2 separate regions of the Homo sapiens genome follow, and region 2 is linked to region 1. Evidence: promoter capture Hi-C in 16 types of primary human blood cells and fetal thymus (Javierre and others, 2016). All regions are on one chromosome and are shown on one strand. Each heading gives the region's core, a stretch centred on a gene start or on the middle of the fragment in contact. The rest is flanking DNA. Distances are from core to core; before and after follow the strand shown.

Region 1 (3,065 bases), core at 105-2,604:
CTAGGTCCCCGTGGACTCCCTCACCCCCTCTGGCCCTGCTCCTAAAAGGCCATTTCTGGAAAATGTTGCTTTCTCAGGTCGCATCTCTGCCCCCATCCAAGTCCGAGGGAGCTGATTTTCTATCCACCCAGCTGATGATTTCCTTCTTGTGTCCGGTGGTTGGCGGGAGCAGGGAGGCAGGATGATGGGATAATTGTGGGTGTCCTTGTGTCTTTCAAAAGAAAAAGGGTTGAGATGAGACTGGGAATTGGAACCTGGATGTGTTGAGAGCTAAACCTGAGATGAGGTTGGAGATGGGACTGGGGTTGAGGAACAGGCTGGAGTACTTGGTATGGTTAGGGATGGATAGGGAGGTGGGAATCTGATAGAACACGGCCATCTGGGGGCTGACTGCCTATTAAGAATTATGCATGGGGTTGGAGAAGAGGTTAGAAAACTGGGTGCAGAATGGGTTGAAGTTAGGGATGGGCATGGAACTCAGCGGGGTAGGGGGAAGGAAATGGGCTTTCCCCTTACCCTTTTTTGGGTCCTGAGGCCTGAAAGTTCACAGTGGGTTCAACTCTGCCTTGGGCGGGGTCAGACCTAGGTCCCAGCACGTCCTGGAAGCTCCGCCCCAAGCAGAGGGCCAAGCCCAGGTCGGGGGTGCCTGGAGACATCCCGCTGAGCCACTGGGGGTGGAGAGGGGGAGGCCAGGGACCAGGAAATGCTGAGTGAGCTGGGGGAGGGAGTTCAGGGGTTAAAAGCCATGGTTCGGGGCTGAAGTTCTAGACAGCTGGCGGCTGACGCTCCTCGTGGGCCCCTCACTCAGGTAGGGTCTGCCTGGGGCGGGGGCGGGGAGCGGAGGAGGGCAGGGAGGGGAGAGAAGAGGGGATAGGAAGGATGGGGAAAGCAGAAGGGCAGCTGAGTCAGGGAGAGGGAGAGTGAAGCTAGAGTCTCAGATCTAGAGAGAAACCTGCAGAGACGGAGAGAGGCGAAGGGCGCGGACAGATAAGAACTTGGGCTAATACCAAGCGTGTGGACAGACCCAGAGGGGTAGAATGGAAGGCAGACTCTGGAGGAAAAGGGCGAGAGTGCACCGACCACCCAGCTCGCCAGAGGGCAGGGGAGGAGGGACGGCTTCCTGGGGTGAGGGGCTGCACGCCGGAGCCCCAGGAGGTTGCACACTGTTCCTCCCACCTCGCCACTGCACCCCCACCAAGGATGGAATTGGAGGCGGGGGGCAGATTCCAGGGTCAGGGCTGTCAAGAGTGAATGAGGCGAGGAGACATTCAGGAGCAGAGAGGTTTCAGACGCGGAGGTTCCGGGCACGCCCTCAACACCCCCTTCACCTTCTCCTCAGGCCCCGCCCGCCCTGCCCTCCCCTCCCGATCCCGGAGCCATGTGGCCCCTGGCCCTAGTGATCGCCTCCCTGACCTTGGCCTTGTCAGGAGGTAAGAATGCGCGGGGGTGGAGGCGCGGCGGCCATTCGGGACAATGGTAGGAGGGGTCAGGCCGGAGGGGGAGGGGGCGTGGGAGCCGCGAGCTCCGCCCCCCGCCCACTCGGGGCCGGGTCCAGTGGGGACAGCTCAGAGCTCTTCCTGCTTGTCCCTGGGTGACCTGGTTTCCCGGCTGAGGTTGGCCCTCCGACCCCAGACCCTTCACCTCCCAAAATACCCTCGCAGCAGCCCCTCCCGCGTTCAAGGCTTCCTGTCCTCTCTGGAAAGCTGAAAGACATGGGTTCGCGTCCTGACGCTGCCGCTTTGAGCCAGTAGCCTAGCAGCTGCTTTGTGCCTAAATTGTTTTCATCTGGAAAATGGGCTTAATCTATAAGTGCTTACCAGAGAAGGTCACTGTGAATATTGAAACGAGGTAATGCGTCGAGCCTTCAGTATGTCGCAGGTAGAAGGGACTTGAAAGTTAGCCACTTAGCCGTTATTACTTTATTAGTAGTATTCCTTTTTTTTTTTTTTTTTTTTTTTGAGATGGAACCTTGCTCTGTCTCCCAGGCTGGAAGGCAGTGGCACGATCTTGGCTTACTGAAACCTCCGCCTCCCGGGTTGAAGCGATTCTCCTGCCTCAGCCTCCCGAGTAGCTGGGATTACAGGCGCCCGCCACCACGCCCAACTAATTTTTGTATTTTCAGCAGAGACGGGGTTTCGCCATGTTGGTTAGGCTGGTCTCGAACTTCTAACTTCAAGTAGCCCGCGTCAGCCTCCCAAAGTGCCAGGATTACAGGCATGAGCCACCGAGCCCGGCCTCTAGTATTCTGTCTTCATACTCAGCCCCTTCCAGAACCTTCTAGATTGTTATTTTAATCCTTGGGTTGACCCCAAACCTATGTGACCTCACCCCAAATTGGTAGTCCTTAAGATCCTTATGGATCTTTCCCATCTTTCCCTGCCGTTGTAGGCAGGTTCTCTGGAAACCCCGTTCATGAATCATTTATTCATTCAACAAACAGCTATTAAACACCGGCCACTGTGCTGGGTGCTGTACAAGCAGAGACACAGTCCCTGCTCTCAGCACCTGGAGTCTAGCGGGGACAGACGCAGATGTTATTCAAACAATTATCCAAATAATTAGTTAATAATTATCTTGACATGAGGTGAAGACTTCAAGGAGCCAAGCCAGGGGCCTAGAGATGTAATGGCGGCTTCCCGACCAGAGGCCTTCCCAAAGGGCTTGACCCTTGAGCCAAGACCTGAAAAAGGAGGGATCTGTGGGTGCCTGGCACCTGGCACCATCCTTGGCCTGAAGGTGGGGTGGCTTTTCTCCTCTGGCGACACTCCCTGGATTCATGCCCGTGCCACTCCTGAGTGCCACACCCTAGGCTAGGAGACCCACACGCTACGCCTTGTGGAGTCCTCAACAACCTGGCGAGGTAGGTGCATTGTAATTACTCCAATTTCATGGCAGAGAAACCTAGGACTCAAAGACAGAAGGCTCCTGCTCCAATGACACCGGCGATGCCTGAGTCAGAATCCTAATCAAGGTTGTTTTCCCTGTCCATATCCTGGACTTGAGGCTCTGAAAACCATTTTTATAACTTTTGACCTAATCATTTGCTTAAAGTTAGCTTTTTTTCT
Region 2 (3,167 bases), core at 61-2,560, 510 kb before region 1:
TCACTAAAGACAAGTAATTGACCAATAAAATTATGAAAAAAAAGCCTGTTTGTAAACAAAGTAATGCAAATTAAAACACTATACTATCTTTATTTCCATCACATTAGAAAAGATAAAAATAACAAAATAAAAATAGTACTGTCCAGAGCAGAGGGAAATACACACCACAAAGAGAAGATAATGTGCATGGTACTGGGATATACTCTGACATGAATTCAGACACTGATGGAAAATCTGAATTAGCGACAGCAGTATTGATTCAAATGATAAACTGGAAATCAGGTCAAGCAGAAAAAAAATTTCATTGTTAAAAAAGGAAAAAAGCTTATATTGAACATGTGTCCTAAAACGCTAAACTTGAAGATGTTCTGAACACGCAAGTTGACCAACATCAATGCAAATGAGAGAAACGTTTGTGCATCTGCACTGCTGTCACAAAGACTTAGACAATTTCATGTTTTAAACTTGTTTTGTTTTGAGACAGGGTCTCACTCTATTGCCCAGGCTGGAGTGTAGTGTCATGATTGCAGCTCACTGCAACCTTGACCGCCTCAAGCTCAGGTGATCCTCCCACGTCAACGTACTCAGTAGCTGGGACTACAGGTGCATGCCACCACACCTGGCTAATTTTTGTATTTTTGTAGAGTCTCGCCATGTTGCCCAGGCTGGTCTCCAACTCCTGGGCTCAAGTGATCCGCCCGCCTCGGCCTCCCAAAGTGCATGAGCCACTGTGCCCCACCTAAACTTGTATGTTTCAATTTTTCTTTTAAGAACGACTTTTAAATATTTGGGGTATTTACAATTTTGAAAATGATTTATATGTGCAATTTATTTTGTGTTAATGTTCCCTTCTTTTAATACTTTCTATTATCAAATGTTTCTAGCAGGTTGAGATGATTTTAACAGGTTACTGAAATATATAATCTCACAATATATTGGTTCAGGATAATAACACACATATTTATTATACTTTTTTTAAAAAACAGAACATCTCTGTAAATTTGGTTATAAACCCATCACAGAACAATGGTACACTGTTTACTATTATAGTCACATACTATTTAAAGACTTGTAAATAAAGCATCAAGAGATACACAGAATAATTTAGGATTTCAGGAAATCTTGACTATACCAAGAATTCTGATTTCTTGTTACCAAATCCTGACTATTTCTATCTGTGGGCAATCTGGAAACACTGTTTTCCAGCATTTTTTGTTCACCTTTTTAAACAGGAAAAAGTGTTTAAAAGCCTCTTCACATGGTCCTTAAAAGCCTCTTCTCACTCTACCTCCCTGTGACTATTTAAATTACAAAGGAAGGAGATTTTGCCGCACCTTATGAGAACAGAGGAAAAACGGGCCAAACCCCATGGACCAAGCAAGGAATTTGGTGGGGGGGACCACTTGAAATTTTTCAAAGACCCAGTGGTGGATGAAGGAGCAGAACCAGTGCTTAGCAGGAAAGAGTCAGCTTTTCCATCCTATGACTGGGGCTTCTGATCAGACCAGGGACTACAGTTTCTTCTTTCTTGACCCAAGGCCAACCCTCTACTATCCTCTTTTATCAGCCAGTTCATGGTTTCCTCTAGAACACAGATAGCCTATGAATGTGGAAACATCAGCCTCTGTGGTCCTCGCTTGACAGGAGGCTCAAGACTGACTCAGGAGCAGGGAGCCCAGACCTGCTGCATCCTGTGTCTGCCCTCACGTTCTGGAGAACTATCCCCAGGGCTGCCCCTGTTTACCTCGCAAGATCCATCCTGCTTCTCTGGACCCAGGACCTGAGGCTTCTGGGATAAATTCACATCAGCAGGCATCTCCACTCTGGGCTTCTACTCTCGGTCTCTCTTGCTGACAACTCCACTTTTCCCAGGAGCCAGAAGCTGGATAGGTGTTTGGATTTTCCAACCAGGGACACGGCGGAGAGTCGTACTGGGCTATGAAGAGAGATCCTGCAGCCTCAATGATGTGGCCTGACCTGGGGGTTCTGCAGAAGCCTTGGAAAAGCAATGAGTACATGGTCACTCATTCAACATTCACTCCACAAATATTTCCTGAGGGCACTGAGGTGAAGTCACTGTGTCAGACATTGGAGTAGACAAAGTTCAGAAAGCCCAACTCTAGTTATTAGTCAGGGTTAAAAATAAAGACTGAGTCTGGACTAAATGGTGAATTCATTGCAGCTTTGCCACATTTTCACTGTGAGAATATGAAAATATTACTTTAGTTGTAGTTTCCAAAATGAAAATGCAGGTATTTATCACAGATGTTGGGAAACTTAACCAAGATGAAGCTTGTCAAGTCCTCAGTGCCTGCCTGGCACGTGATAAATATGAATTAAAAAAAGAAAGTTGTCAATTTAATTGTCAGCTAAATATCATGGGCATTATCATACCCATTTTGAGGATGAGGATAATGAGGCTGTGTGCTGTTACATAATTTGCCTGAAGGTTACTCAGTCTGTAAATGGAAAAACAGGGAATCAGCCCCACATCTGCCTTGTTCTAAACTGTACACTGTCTCCACTATCTCATGTACCCATACGTGGCCAGCTTCCAGAAACACCATTTCCTCTTTCTGTTGCCTTCATAGAACTCAGGCCGGGAGGTGGCTCTGTCTGGTGTACCTATTCTGAGCTTCTGGACTTTTCAGTCCCCGTCCATAATACACCACACACAGACCAGCCTCTTCTGACTAGAGCTAAAACTTAAAATCACTGTCCCAATCCCCATCTTGACACAGAAAATTTGCAGACATGCATCAGGGCCTCCAGTTACCATTTCTTGCCTGTCCACAATAAGTTGCCCCCACCGCACCTGAATGCAATCACTGACAGGACTGACTTTCAGAAATCCCCAATGAGTGTACTACAGGGCTGCCAGAAAGTTCCAAAATGCCTCCCAGTCACTGACATGGCACAGGCTTCTGAAATCTTTACTGCCCTGATAGCCAAGAAATGTTTCCCAGCGAGCACAATTTTCTGGTTTCCATAAAACGACAAATAATCCCCAACATAGGGGTCCAAATGAAATGCCCCAATAGGAAACCATCATCGATGTGCTCAACTGTCAATTACTGATCCTTACCATGTCCAAGGGACCCAAGAAGAGGCCAACACTGACCCACCCACCAATCCCTGAAGGACCCCAACACTCACTGCCTAGAAAG

Evidence for each region. The method cuts DNA at HindIII sites, captures the fragments that hold promoters and counts their contacts. A CHiCAGO score of 5 or more calls a contact.
Region 2: a contact is called between a fragment that was not itself captured here and the fragment with the promoter of KLK13 in region 1, in 1 of 17 cell types (neutrophils). The highest score is 5.2, in neutrophils.

The regions. Positions count from the first base shown.
Region 1 is chr19:51,063,381-51,066,445 of GRCh38, reverse strand. KLK13 (kallikrein related peptidase 13) reads left to right here and starts at 1,354. Exons shown (of 5, transcript NM_015596.3): 1 at 1,354-1,430. The coding sequence starts at 1,379. The HindIII fragment of the contact is 5,030 bases long and covers 1-3,065 here.
Region 2 is chr19:51,571,979-51,575,145 of GRCh38, reverse strand. It overlaps ZNF175 (zinc finger protein 175), which reads right to left. Exons shown (of 5, transcript NM_007147.4): 2 at 1,745-1,996. The coding sequence starts at 1,816. Among named protein-coding and RNA genes, the nearest start is that of ZNF175, 2.3 kb to the right of the region's middle. The HindIII fragment of the contact is 1,968 bases long and covers 327-2,294 here.